Linked DNA regions of Homo sapiens: region 2 is linked to region 1. The links are contacts of gene promoters, found by promoter capture Hi-C in blood cells and fetal thymus (Javierre and others, 2016). All regions are on one chromosome and are shown on one strand. The core of a region is centred on a gene start or on the middle of the fragment in contact, and the rest is flanking DNA. Distances in the headings are between cores, read along the strand shown. Region 1 holds the start of LINC01431 (long intergenic non-protein coding RNA 1431). Region 2 holds the start of GINS1 (GINS complex subunit 1).

Region 1 (6,657 bases), core at 2,959-5,458:
TTGTCAGGGCAGAATGAACTTTGGCATTCACGTGGCTTCTCTTCAACCTTACTTCCCTGCAGCCCCTGGTTCCCCAAGGCAGAGGAAATACCCTGGTGGAGCCCTCCTTCCATAGAACCAGAGATGGCATCTGTGGATTTCAAGACCTATGTGGATCAGGCCTGCAGAGCTGCTGAGGAGTTTGTCAATGTCTACTACACCACCATGGATAAGCGGCGGCGTTTGCTGTCCCGCCTGTACATGGGCACAGCCACCCTGGTCTGGAATGGCAATGCTGTTTCAGGACAAGAATCCTTGAGTGAGTTTTTTGAAATGTTGCCTTCCAGCGAGTTCCAAATCAGCGTGGTAGACTGCCAGCCTGTTCATGATGAAGCCACACCAAGCCAGACCACGGTCCTTGTTGTCATCTGTGGATCAGTGAAGTTTGAGGGGAACAAACAACGGGACTTCAACCAGAACTTCATCCTGACCGCCCAGGCCTCACCCAGCAACACAGTGTGGAAGATCGCAAGTGACTGCTTCCGCTTCCAGGACTGGGCCAGCTAGTGGGGGTGGCAGAGGTCTCTTTGCTTCATTCAGCCCTAGCTCTGTAGAGAAATGCAAACCTCGACTCTCAAGGATGTGAGGAACACAAGTTCATTTCTGTTGTTGCGGAGACACTGCAGACTCCACTGTGCCGAGGTTGAACTCTTTTTTGTTGCTCAAGTTCTAGGAGTCCCTTTCCTGAATATATACTTGTTTGTCATAGTTTCCTTTTCAAAGTAGTAAACTTTTCTATTTTTCTACTTGCCCAGTAGAGACTCTGATTCTGGAAATTCTGACAAATAATTTAATAATACACATGTTGCTTCTTTCCCTGTCTGATGTGTTTGACCAGGTTGTGAGGGAGGAGGAGGGCTAAAGGCAGAAAGCATAATAGGAAGCACCCGCACAGGGGTGAGGATCAGGGCTTAGTACCTACCCCAGGCACCAGTGTGCACATAGTTGGCCCACCTGGAGCTGTGATTCACAGCCCCATGCACACTAGAATCCCTTGGGACACTGAAAATTACCTATGCCAAGGCCATACTCCAGACCCAACCATGCTTGAGTGTGTGTGTGTGTGTGTGTGTGTGTGTGTGTGTGTGTGTGTGTGTGTGGTGGTGGGTAGGGGGGTTGGTTTTGTTCCAGGCTGGAGTGCAGTGGCATAATCTTGGCTCACTGCAACCTCCATCTCCCGGGTTCTAACAATTCTCGTGCCTAAGCCTCCTGAGTAGCTGGGATTGCAGGCACATGCCACCACACCCGGCTAATTGTTTGCCTGAATCTTTGAGGATACGGCTGGGCATGGGCAGTTTCTAAAAGCACCCTAGGTGTCTTTTAGGATACATCACCTTAGGATATAGCAGAATCACCTAACAGATGGCTGGGCCCTACCTTAGCACCTTAGCTGAGAATTAAATGATGAGAACAGATGAAATACTAGAGTTAGCTAATTGCTTATAAATGAAGCCACTATATTAAACTCATTGATAAAGAGAAAGTGAATCAGCACTGATTCTGAGAGGAAGAAGCACTGAAACTAGGATGGAGGACATCAGAACCAGAAGCTGCTGTTACTGATCCTAAAGGCCAAACCCAATTGCATTTCTTCAATGTAAAGAATAGAAAACCCTATAGAAGTTGGACCAATAGATGATGTGCCTGCCATGCTGCAGCTTCCCCAGTTAAGTTGTCTTTGGTAAAAGTGTGCTAGGTTTGGGATAGGGTAGTCAAGATACTGCAATGGGAAATTTTGAGAAGGGTAAGAATCCTGATAAGCACAGTGACACAGGTAGCCGTTTCCTCTTGACACCCCTTCCCTTCTCTATTATCTGAAGCCCAGTGTTTTGAGAGATAAGGGACCCACCTTAAATACTTGACTTTCTCATTCAATTTGTAGCTAGGTCTGACATGTGATTAAGTTCTGGCCAATGAAGTAGGACTGAACTTGGGGGAATTTTCCTTCAACAGACCCTTCTTTCTTTCCCACTCTATCCTGCTGCCTGGAAAGGTTATGCTGACCTGACCACGGGCTCTGGCTCAGTCTTGGCCAAGAGAACAGCTCAGCCATACCCTAGACGTAGGATAGTGCTGAGCTAAAAGGAGCCTAGGTCCCATGTGGAAACACCAAAATAGCCCCAGCTCACTCAACCAAAGACTTCTTTTTAAATGAGAAATCCCATCTTAAGCCATTATCAATTTGGGGTGTGTGACACTGACACACAGCAGTAATCCTAAGTGAGGAAAAGGATTTGAATGGGGCAGACTGTATTCACTACAGGGCCCAGAAGACGCGGGGACGGCCCCAACTACTGCCCTTCAGGTCCGGGCCAGACCCGCAATGGGCAGGATGGGTAGGGTACAGGGCGTGCGTCCCCACCTACACTAGCCTGGTTGCAGGCGGCCTCCAAGGGCACAGCGGGAAGCTCCGCCCTTGCCATGCCCCCGCCACCGGGGAAGGCAAGACAAATGTGCGTGGCACCCTCCTCCTTCGGTTCTGGGACACATCTCCACCAAGCGGCCGTTCGGCAGGTAGGGCCAGATGGTCCCGGCTCGTCCCTGCGGGTGGGGTTTCCCACCGGCGGAAAGCGCAAGCCCCTCCCGTTCTGTCCAGCGCGCTGCCCGCTGCCTTAATTATAAGGCAGATGAAGGTGAAAAGTTTACTGGTTTTTATTTTTGCAACTTTTTGTAAATTTTAAATTATTCTAAAAAGTTTAAGAAATGAATTGTGCTGAGGAGTATAATCAGCACGCAGTGCGAGTTCTTATAGTGGCCACGTCCACAAACCCTGTGTTGTGGAAGAACAGAAGGCGTTCTGCTTTCTGTGTTTCACCGTCTCTCCCTCGCTTTAACTTCCAGGTCCCGGAGTAGTGGTGACAGCAAGGTCTGTTGGTTTCTTTGGTTTAGGTTTGATGAAAGGCCACTCCAGTGGGGTAGGAGGTGGGCAGGGAGAACAGGGGCTAGGGTGGGAGGGGCAGGAGTTGGGTCCTGGGGGTGGAGGAGATGACGGGGAGAGTGGCTTGGAGAAATCTGCAAGAAGAGACATTGGAAGGCCGGGGGAGGTGAAATGGACACTGGGTGAAGCTGAGGAGTCCTAGTGAACCATGTTACCTCTGATCCAGATATTCCCAGAACAACAAGAAATCAAGCTTCTGAATGTGGTCTGTTGCAAGCTTGGAAGGTGCACACCTGTTGCTGCTAATTTGGACAATTTGGGGGAAGAGCAGAGATTTAGATGTTGCTTTGGTCGACCTTAAACACCAGCCCTGTCTCCCCTACCACTTTGCCAAATTAGGGCCCCGTCTCTCTAAAGAGCAAACAGAAAACTGCAGAAAGTTGCTTTGTCCTGTAGACAAGAGGCTGGGACTAGGTAAGAGGAGGGAGCCAGGATGCAAAACTTAAGACCAGCCTGGCCAACAAGGCGAAACCCCGTTTCTACTAAAAATAGAAAAATTAGCTGGGCGTGGTGGCAGGCGCCTGTAATCCCAGCTACTCAGGAAGCTGAGGCAGGACAATCGCTTGAACCCAGGAGGCGGAGGTTGTAGTCAGCCAAGATCGCGCCACTGCATTCCAGTCTGGGCGACAGAGCGAGACTCCGTAACAAAAAACAAACAAACAAACAAAAAATCTTAAACATCACCAACGAGCCTTGTGAGAAATGGTTTAACGTTGTGATACCTTGCCCAATTTTAAGGCAGGTAAAGGTGTGTGTTAAAACTCAACTCTTGAACTGAACCCCAGCTGCCCTTTAGGGCATGCTTAATTTGATGTGGACTGTAACCTCTTTTGCAGCATTGTAGAGATTTGGAATCTGCACATTAGGAAGAGACCCCACGAGGCGGTGGCGTTCTTTCTCGTTCGGAGCTCACACCCCTCCTGGGGAGCCCTCTCCCAACCCGGGCTCCCGGTAAGCGCGGTCGCCGCTCCTCTGAGGGCTGCTCTTCCCTCGCTTCTGAGCCGAGGCCCCCGCGACACGAACGCCACGCCCGAAGCGCTCTTGCCAGGACGTACTGACCGAGGGTAGGCTGCCCAGCCGGGTGGTAACGTTGAGGAAAGGACAGCAGCTTCGCAAAGGAGCTGGGTAAAACCACGCCCAGACCCCGCTGGCCACCAGCCCGAGACCAAGACGCAGGCGGTGGCGCCGGTTTCTCACTCAACCGCAGGTTCCAGCATCCCCGATACGGCCGACGTCATTACCCTGCGACCGCTCAGGACACTTCTGAGGACTCTTTTGACAGCTAGTAATCGCGCGGTGGCGCGACCACGTGACTCCGGCGCCCTAGCCCCGCCCTCCGTCTCCAAGGAGCCCTGGAAGGAGCTATACCAGCGGCTCCAGAAGGCGGGGAGAGGCGGGGCCGGACTCCGGGACAGCCAATGGGCGAGGAGTGCCGCCCAGCCTGACCCACCGGCCGCTCCCTCACGAGCCTGTGGGCGTGCGCCGGCTGTGCAGGTGAGGGGCAGCGAGGGCGCCTAGTGGGCAGGGCGCCGGCGTTGCGCGTGCGTCAGTGTTCTTCCTTGTGCAGTTTAGAATTTGATACATTTCTTTCCAGTCTATTTCTATAGATTTGTTTTCAAATCACATCAGACCCTATGTAAAATAGTGTACCGTCTTTACTCATTATAACATGGTGAGCATTTCCCCAAGCTATTACACATATTTTTAAACATTGTTTTAATGACCGGCATAATAATCCAGTGCTTGGATATATCAAATTCTTCGGCCATCTCCTTATAGGTGAGATTGTTTCCAAAGTTTCACTAATGTAAGTGCACTGCAGTGAACGCCCTTACGTAACAATTGTTCACTCCCGTGTACTTTTCTCGTGCAGAGTTCTACAGCATGAAACACTATATTTAACTTTGTCAGGTTGATGTTTATCAGTGGTTTATTATTGTTTTTATAGTATTCCATTGTCAGTGAAGTATGCCATTCACACTGTCAAGTGAATTGTCTATTTGTATTATTTAAAAAAAAGATCACAAACATAGAAAGGAGAGCTTTATTTCTTTAAACGGTGATAACCTGCAAGGTGGCCCTTCTGACAGGCTGGGAAGCATAGCTTCTGGCAGAAGCTCAAAAGGCAGGCAGCTGGAGGGAAGGGGGCCTAAGACAGGAATTTAAGCTGAAGGACTTAGCCAAGTACACATATGAACAGGCCACAGGAAGAGCTATGAATATTCATGAAACGGGTCCTGACCCATGCTTACTGGACAAACGTGCATGTTACAGGTGACCTATGTTTACTTTGGGGTGGACTCTTAGCATTTACAGGTATTCATGTATTACATTTAGACCCTATAAGTTGAAAGATCTTTTCAGGACACCGATGCACTTGTGTGCAGCCTCTGTAAACCGCCAGAATCAGCCCCTGTTCGGTTGTTTCCCATCAGGAAAAAGTTACTGCAGTCAGTCTCTGGTCCAATCAAAGCAGTAATTATTTGTGGAAGTGGTGGGGCTGGGGCAGGGGGCGTGTCAGTCAGCATGTGGAGGTGGATGAAAAGCACATTGTTTGAATATTGCTTATCTAGAGGCCAGTGCTTGTTTGGCTGCCAGAGAATAAAAACCTTGTGGCAGTTAAGGCATAGTTTCTTCTTGAAGTGTAGAGGTGCATGACAACCCTTGCCAGGCATGGCCCTTCATTCTTTATCATTTAGTATTGCCACAAAGAGTCTGTGAGTCTTATGACCTCTATTTTTAAAGCTATTAAGACACTCAACTAAAGCAATCCTTTCAGTATTGAATGGATAAGCTAGCATTATGTTATGCTAGCTAACATAATCGGAGACGGAGTCTCATTCTATTGCCCAGGCTGGAGTGCAATGGCATGATCGAAGCTCACTGCAACCTCCATCTCCTGGGTTCAAGTGATTCTCCTGCCTCAGCCTCCTGAGCATCTGGGATTACAAGTGCCTGTCACCACTCCCGGCTAATTTGGTTTTGTTTTTTTGAGACAGAGTTTTCCTCTGTTGCCCAGGCTGGAATGCAGTGGTGCAATCTCCGCTCACTGCAACCTCTGCCTCCCATGTTCAAGCGATTCTCCTGCCTCAGTCTCCTGAATAGCTGGGATTAAAGGCATGTACCACCTCGCCCAGCTAATTTTTGTATTATTAGCAGGGAAAGGGTTTCACCATGTTGTCCAGGCTGGTCTTGAACTCCTGACCTCAGGTGATCCGCCCACTTCAGCCTCCCAAAGTGCTAGAATTACAGGTGTGAGCCACCGCACCTGGCCTAATTTTTGTATTTTAGCAGAGACGGGGTTTCACCATGTTGGCCAGGCTGGTCTTCAACTCCTGACCTCAAGTGATCGGCCCGCCTCGGCCTCCCAAAGTGCTGGGATTACAGGCGTGAGCCACCGTGCCTGACCACCTTTTTGTAATGCAAAACAAAATCATAAAACACGATTCTGGGCCTGCTGGAGCCATGGGTGAAAACTGCGTTCATTCCAATTTCTTCAAATCATGGAATGCAAATATAGAGAGTCGGCCTAAGAAAGATTTCTGTCACTCATTCATTCTTCAAATATTTATTGAGCACCTACTATGTGTGGGAAGCTGGCTCCTGTTCAGGAAATATAATTAAAAGTACAATCTCCCAACCCTCTTCAGAAAGGTAGTGGAGAAAGAAAACACTTTGTA
Region 2 (6,657 bases), core at 821-3,320, 2.0 Mb after region 1:
ACTCCAAGATAGGGATTTTAAAGGATAATTTAGTGGGTAGGGGGTCACAAAGTGAGGGGTGCTGATTGGTTGGATGAGAGATAAAATCATAGAGAGTCAAAGCTGTCCTCTTGGGCTGAGTCAGTTCTTGGGTGGGGACCACAAGACCAGATGAGCCAGTTTATCGATCTGGGTGGTGCCAGCTGATCCCATCAAGTGCAGGGTCTACAAAATATCTCAAGCACTGGTCTTAGGTTTTATAATAGTGCTGCTATCCCTAGGAGCACTTGGGGAGGTTTTAGAATCTTGTAGCCTCCCGCTGCGAGACTCGTAAATTTCTAGTCTTGTGGCTACTCTGTTACTCCTGCAAAGGCAATCTAGTCCCCAGACAAAAAGGGTTTCGCTTTGGTAAAGGGCTAAGTATTTGTTTCAAAATTAAACTATAAACTAAGTTTCTCCCCAAGTTAATTCGCCCTAAGCCCAGGAATGAACAAGGATGGCTTGGCGGTTAGAAGCAAGATGGAGCCAGTTAGGTCAGATCTCTTTCACTGTAATAATTTTCTCTATTATAATTTTTTCAAAGGCGGTTTCAAAAAGGCAATGTTTGCTGGGTGCGGTGGCTCACGCTGTAATTCCAGCACTTTGGGAGGCCCAGGCGGACGGATCCCTTGAGCTCAAGAGTTGTCGACCAGACTGGCCAACATGGTGAAACCCTGTCTCTACTTAAAATACAAAATAGCCAGGTGTGGTGGCCTGAGCCTGTAGTCCCAGCTACTCAGAGGGCTGAGGGGGGAAAATTACCTCAGCCCGGGAAGTGGAGGCTGCAGTGAGCTGAGATGGCGCCACTGCACTCCACCTGGGTAACGGGAGTTAAGACCCTGTCTCCAAAAAAAAAAGGCAATGTCATTATTCAACATAAGCCTGAGTAGGCCATTCCCATGCCCATTCCTTAGATGACATATCTACTGTATATTTGCAAAAGATCAACATAGTTTCTAGGGTTAGCTAGAATTAATCCAAGATTGCGCCGGTTGCGGTGGCTCATGCCTGTAATCCCAGCACTTTGGGAGGCCGAGGTGGGCGGATCACGAGGTCAGGAAATTGAGACCGTCCTGGCTAACACGGTGAAACCCCGTCTATACTTAAAAAATTCAAAAAATTAGCTGGGCGTGGTGGCGGGCGCCTGTAGTCCCAGCTACTCGGGAGGCTGAGGCAGGAGAATGGCGTGAACCCGGGAGGCGGAGCTTACAGTGAGCCGAGTTCGCGCCACTGCACTCCAGCCTGGGCGACAGAGCGAGACTCCATCTCAAAAAAAAAAAAATCCAAGATTGCTTGTTAGAAATTAACATTGCTTTTTGAAAAATTGCCTAATAAAACAATTCTTTAGCAGTGATTCCCATCTTCCATATGCTTAAGAAATATTCCATAACCATCTAGCCAAGAAAATTCCTAGTGAATTCGTATTAATCTAGGGCAGATATTACAAATATTTTTAAAAGACTATTTTAAAATCAAAGGGTGGTACTGTGGTGTTGGAAATGGAAAGCCTAAATAACAGTCTAATCACTCTGGAGCTGTGTGACCTTGGGCAAGTTACCTAACTTCTGTTTCCTTATTAATCCCGGGTCTTAAAACACTTCAGAGATAATTGTGGGAATGAAATACACACTGCAGTCCCTACCAGCACTAGGTACCCAATAAAAGAGAGTTTCATTTTAATATCAAACAGAAAACCCGCACTGCAAAACTGAAACCCTTGCGTCCTACCAATGCACACCAAGTTTTTGGGCCTTTCCTCTTAACCTCAAAGTGCTCTTTTCTTGAACCTAAACGAGAATGAATGAATCAAAAGGAAAATGACAAGGAAGCTGCGGGGCGTGCATTTATTTCCAGCTCTGCTGCCCGTAGAGTCCCCCGGCCCACTGCCTGAGAACTGGAAAAGCCGTCTCTGCTCAGCCGAGGGGTTCTGCCATCTCCGGGGCGGGGACCTCACCTTGGAAAGACCCCTCCCACTCCGCCCCTCTTGGAATGCGGCTGAGCGGTGGATGTCCCTTTTCGGGCGCCGTAGGCGCGTTCCTATTGGCTAGCTTTGTTCGGCGCCAAAGCGCGGAGCGGAGGCCGAGGCGAGAGCCTGGCGCTGTAGGACTAGAACGAAAGGAGTGAGGCGCCGAGAGCCCAGATACCATTTTGGCGTGAGAGCTGGTGGTTGGCAAGGCCGCGGGAGTGGGAAGCGTCCGCCATGTTCTGCGAAAAAGCCATGGAACTGATCCGCGAGCTGCATCGCGCGCCCGAAGGGCAACTGCCTGCCTTCAACGTGAGGGGCGGGTAGACTTGGACGGGGCATGCCGGCGTTGGGCCCTGGGCTCTGGGGCGGGGCGGCTCCCCGTCAGGGTTCACTTTCGCACCTTGTTCCCTCCGAGCTCCGGAAAACTTGGGAAGCAGCAAAACAAAATTCAGGAGGAAAGAGAAAGCATTCATGCTTACGCTACCCAGCGATTTGGTGAATTTCCTCATCTGAGCAAATTTTGCATTTTAGCAGTTTTCCTTGGACAGATTTGTTCCGGTCCCTTAAAATATTTACAGGTTGCCTGATAATTTAGCATTTCTTGCTCACTCAGGCATCTAATCGTGGTCAGTAAAAGCTAGGCCTCTGGAACCTGGCTGAGATTCTGGTTCTGTAGTGTGACTTTGGGGCAGTTACTCAAGCTTTCTGTGCTCTCAGTTTTCTCATACGCAAAAATGGGGATGGTGACAATAATAGTACCCAACGCATGATGTAGTGGACGCAAAATGAGTGGCATGTGTAAGGGTCTCTGCATATGCCTCACATACAGTAAGGGCTGAGTCAGTGTTAGCTATTAATATTACTTTTCTCCTGCTGCTGCTGTTACTATTAATATTATGATTATTTGTATTTTTCTATCACTGCTACCCCAGGGAGAGTGCTAAGCACTTCATGTACATTATCTTTTGTCTTTCTAATAACCCTTTGAGGGCCCGGTACCATGGCTCCTGCCTGTAATCCCAGCACTTTGGGAGGCTGAGGCGGGAGGATCGCTTGATCCTGCCACTGCATTCCAGCCTGAGTGACAGGGAGACCCTGTCCCAAACAAAACAAAAATAACTTTTTGATGTTTAAACTATTGTTTTCTACTTTTTTCAGCTATATATGCATAGGATTGGGGAGATTTAAGTATATTGCCTAAGGTGACACAGCAAGAAAGCTAGGATTTGAACCCTGGCACTCTGGCTCCAGAGCCTGCACTCTAAATTGTATATTTCACTTACGTCATAGAGCAGGCATTATGTGGATGTCAGGACACATTCTGCTGGAAGATGGGCACAAAAACAGATAATAGAATTCACCACGCTAAGTGATACTAAGGAGGTATAGCAAGGAGCACGAAGGAGAAACACCAGTATGAGCTGGGGTAGAAGAGGTGATATATGAGCCTTTCCATCCTCAAGGATGAGGTTACTGATCTGAGAAGGAAGCGAGGCATCCCAGCCAAAGGATGCTGCAGCACAAAGTCACGTGGTCACACTGGAGAGGGTGACCAATAGGGCCTGTGGGGAGTCTAGGAAGGTGGCTCACAGCCTACATGAATTTGTTGTTCACTTATAAGGCATGCTGGGAGCTGGTAGAGGATTTTAGACAAGGAAGTGATAGGGTAATTTTTGTGTTTTGAAGGTAACTGCGGCAGCAATATGGGGAATGGATTGAAGAGAGGAAAGAATGGGACAGGGAGATGGCTACTGGGTGGCTGATAGAGCAGGTGAGAGGTGTGTGGTCTGAACTGTGTCAGGTCAGTGGCACTGAGATCAGTGTTTGGGTTTTAGAGACATGAAGCAAACATGACTTGTAGCTATTAGAGCAGGGGCAGAGATGGGGTCCATAATGAATAAGAGGGAGGAATTGGGATCTTGGAGGATCCTTAGGAAACTGGGTAAACAACATCAGAGTTCAGGAGATAGAGTGTGTTGGGAAAGGTAATGAGTTTTGTTTTGAACACTAAAGAGCACCTAGCCAGACAATTAGATTGTCTTACAAATGAAGAAACTGAGCTGACACAAATTATGGGTCAAGTTAAGGAACTCGTCTGAATTTACAGCATATTGGAGGTAGAGCTTCAACTTGAACACAGGTTTTCCAGTTTCTAGTCAATTGTTTTTTCAACTTCAGAGCAGTTACCTCATTTAAAAAGTTAGGCAGCAGTCTGCAGCTCAGTAGAGATGCTTGAATGCAGAAGTGTGTAAATGCTAAAATGTGGCCTGAGAACTAGGAACTTTAGAGGTCATTGTACATATCAGGACACAGGCCTAGAGAACAGAGAGACTGTGCAAACAGGTGCGGCCAAGCTGGATTTTGGACCTGACTCTGACACTTAGTTTAGCTCTCTGTTTTACTCAAATTTTAAGTTAAGTGTTGGGTTATCACTTTGTGGGGCTAGGGGCTGGTCTTAGAAGTTGTAGAATCAGGCCAGGAGTGGTGGCTCACGCCTGTAATCCCCCCACTTTGGGAGGCTGAGGCGGGCGGATTACAGGGTCCTGAGATTGAGACCATCCTGGCTAACATGGTGAAACCCCGTATCTACTAAAAATACAAAAAATTAGCCAGGCGTGGTGGGATGTGCCTGTAGTCCCAGCTACTCGGAAGGCTGAGGCAGGAGAATGGCTTGAATCTGGGAGGCGGAGGTTGCAGTGAGCCAAGATCGGGTCACTGCACTACAGCCTGGGCGACAGAGAGAGACTCCGCCTCAAAAAAAAAAAAAAGTTGTAGAATCACTGTCTTGTAGGTCTTAATTTGGTGGAGCACCTTTTGTCTCACTAGTGCCTTCCACTGACAAACCCACCTGATACTCAAGGTGATCCAGCAGCCTGGAACACTTAGTCAGCCTGCAGAGGCTGGCCTCCGACTCAGCGGCACAGAGGAAGGCTGACAGTGGATCTGAGAGGCCCAAGGACCACACAGGCTTTTCTCTTTTTTTTATTGTTTTGAGATGGGAGTTTCGCTCCTGTGGCCCAGGCTGGAGTGCAATGGTGTGATCTCGGCTCACTGCAACCTCCGCCTTCTGGGTTAAGCAATTCTCCTGCCTCAGCTTCCCTAGTAGCTGGGATTACAGGCGCCTGCCACCATGCCCAGATAATTTTATGTATTTTTAGTAGAGATGGGGTTTCACTATTTTGGCCGGGCTGGTCTCGAACTCCTGACCTCAGGCGATCCACCCACCTCAGCCTCCCAAAGTGCTGGGATTATAGGCGTGAGCCACCGTGCCCGGCCCAACACACAGGCTTTTCTTCTGGAATCACTCATGGTTAAGCGCTGTGTTCAGCAAACAGAAAAGTGATTACACCCTTTCTATATGCAGAATTGATACTTTTTTTAAAAAGTACATTTTTAAGAAAGTTAGGCCAAGCATGGTGGCTCATGCCTGTAATCCCAGCCACCACTTTGGGAGGTCAAGGTGGAAGGAACACTTGAGCCCAGGAGTTCGAGACTAGCCTGGGCAACATAGTGAGACCCCATTTTTACAAAAAATAGAATTAGCTGGGTGTGGTGGCACACACCTGTAGTCCCAGCAACTTAGGAGGCTGAAGTGAGAGGATTGCATGGCTCCAGGAAGTTGAAACTGCAGTGAACTGTGGTCACGCTATTACACTCCAGCCTGGGTGACAGACTGAATCCCTGTCTCAAAAAGGAAAAGGTAAGAAAATTACCTTGGGCTCAGGTAGAAGTCATGCTTGCATTTTCCATCAGGAATTACATCTTTTGAGCAGAGTTGAGTAGTTGATTTTGGAATTGTGCCATTTGTATATGCCACAGCATTTTTGCCAACACATATATTTTGGCCCTAAAAATAGACAGTGAAAAAGAGATGGGATTGCTTCTCTTTCGATTGTTGGCAGACCTATTGGGTAACATTTAATCATTTTGGGCTGGACACGGTGGCTCCTGCCTGTACTCGCAGCACTTTGGGAGACCATGGCAGGCGGATCACTTGAGGTCAGGAGTTTGAGAGCAGTGTGGCCAACATGGCGAAACCCTGTCTCTACCAAAAAAAAAAAGATTACAAAAATTAGCCAGACTTGGTGGCTTACACCTGTAATCCTAGCACTTTGGGAGGCTGAGGTGGGTGGATTGCCTGAGGTCAGGAGTTCGAGACCAACCTGGTGAACATGGTGAAACCCTGTCTCTACTAAAAATACAAAAATTAGCTGGACGTGATGGGCACCTGTAATCCCAGCTACTTGAGAGGCTAAGGCAGGAGAATCATTGCTTGGACCCGGGAGACGGAGGTTGCAGTGAGCCAAGATTGCACCATTGTACTCCAGCCTGGGTGACAAGAACAAAACTCCGTCTCAAAAAAAAAAAAAATTAGCTGGGCATTGCTGGTGCACACCTGTAGTCCCAGCTACTCGAGAGGCTGAGGCAAGAGAATCACTTAAACCTGGGAGGCAGAGGTTGCAGTGAGCTGAGATCGCACTACTGCACTCCAACCTGGGCCACAGAGTGAGACTTCATCTCAACAACAACGAAAAAAATCAGAATTCTAATGTTTTATTTTTCCAAGGGAAAATTTGCCCGAAACTGGATACTAGAAAAACTCCTATGGCCGGTTTTTGCAGTGCAAACCAAAAACACTATTCCTTTTTCTTTCTTTTGGTATTAACCTTTTA

Evidence for each region. The method cuts DNA at HindIII sites, captures the fragments that hold promoters and counts their contacts. A CHiCAGO score of 5 or more calls a contact.
Region 2: a contact is called between the fragment with the promoter of GINS1 here and the fragment with the promoter of LINC01431 in region 1, in 1 of 17 cell types (non-activated CD4 T cells). The highest score is 5.6, in non-activated CD4 T cells.

What each region holds. Positions count from the first base shown.
Region 1 is chr20:23,353,919-23,360,575 of GRCh38, forward strand. It overlaps LINC01431 (long intergenic non-protein coding RNA 1431), which reads right to left and starts at 4,209. Exons shown (of 3, transcript NR_109884.1): 1 at 4,037-4,209; 2 at 3,133-3,219; 3 at 2,676-3,051. It overlaps NXT1 (nuclear transport factor 2 like export factor 1), which reads left to right. Exons shown (of 2, transcript NM_013248.3): 2 at 63-853. The coding sequence starts at 124. The coding sequence ends at 546. RefSeq lists enhancers at 3,635-3,724, 3,915-4,304 and a silencer at 4,355-4,544. The HindIII fragment of the contact is 4,137 bases long and covers 3,193-6,657 here.
Region 2 is chr20:25,405,603-25,412,259 of GRCh38, forward strand. It overlaps GINS1 (GINS complex subunit 1), which reads left to right and starts at 2,071. Exons shown (of 7, transcript NM_021067.5): 1 at 2,071-2,293. The coding sequence starts at 2,219. It overlaps LOC105372581 (a long non-coding RNA gene), which reads right to left and starts at 2,693. Exons shown (of 3, transcript XR_937403.3): 1 at 2,469-2,693. RefSeq lists enhancers at 2,113-2,362, 2,460-3,217. The HindIII fragment of the contact is 9,972 bases long and covers 1-2,683 here.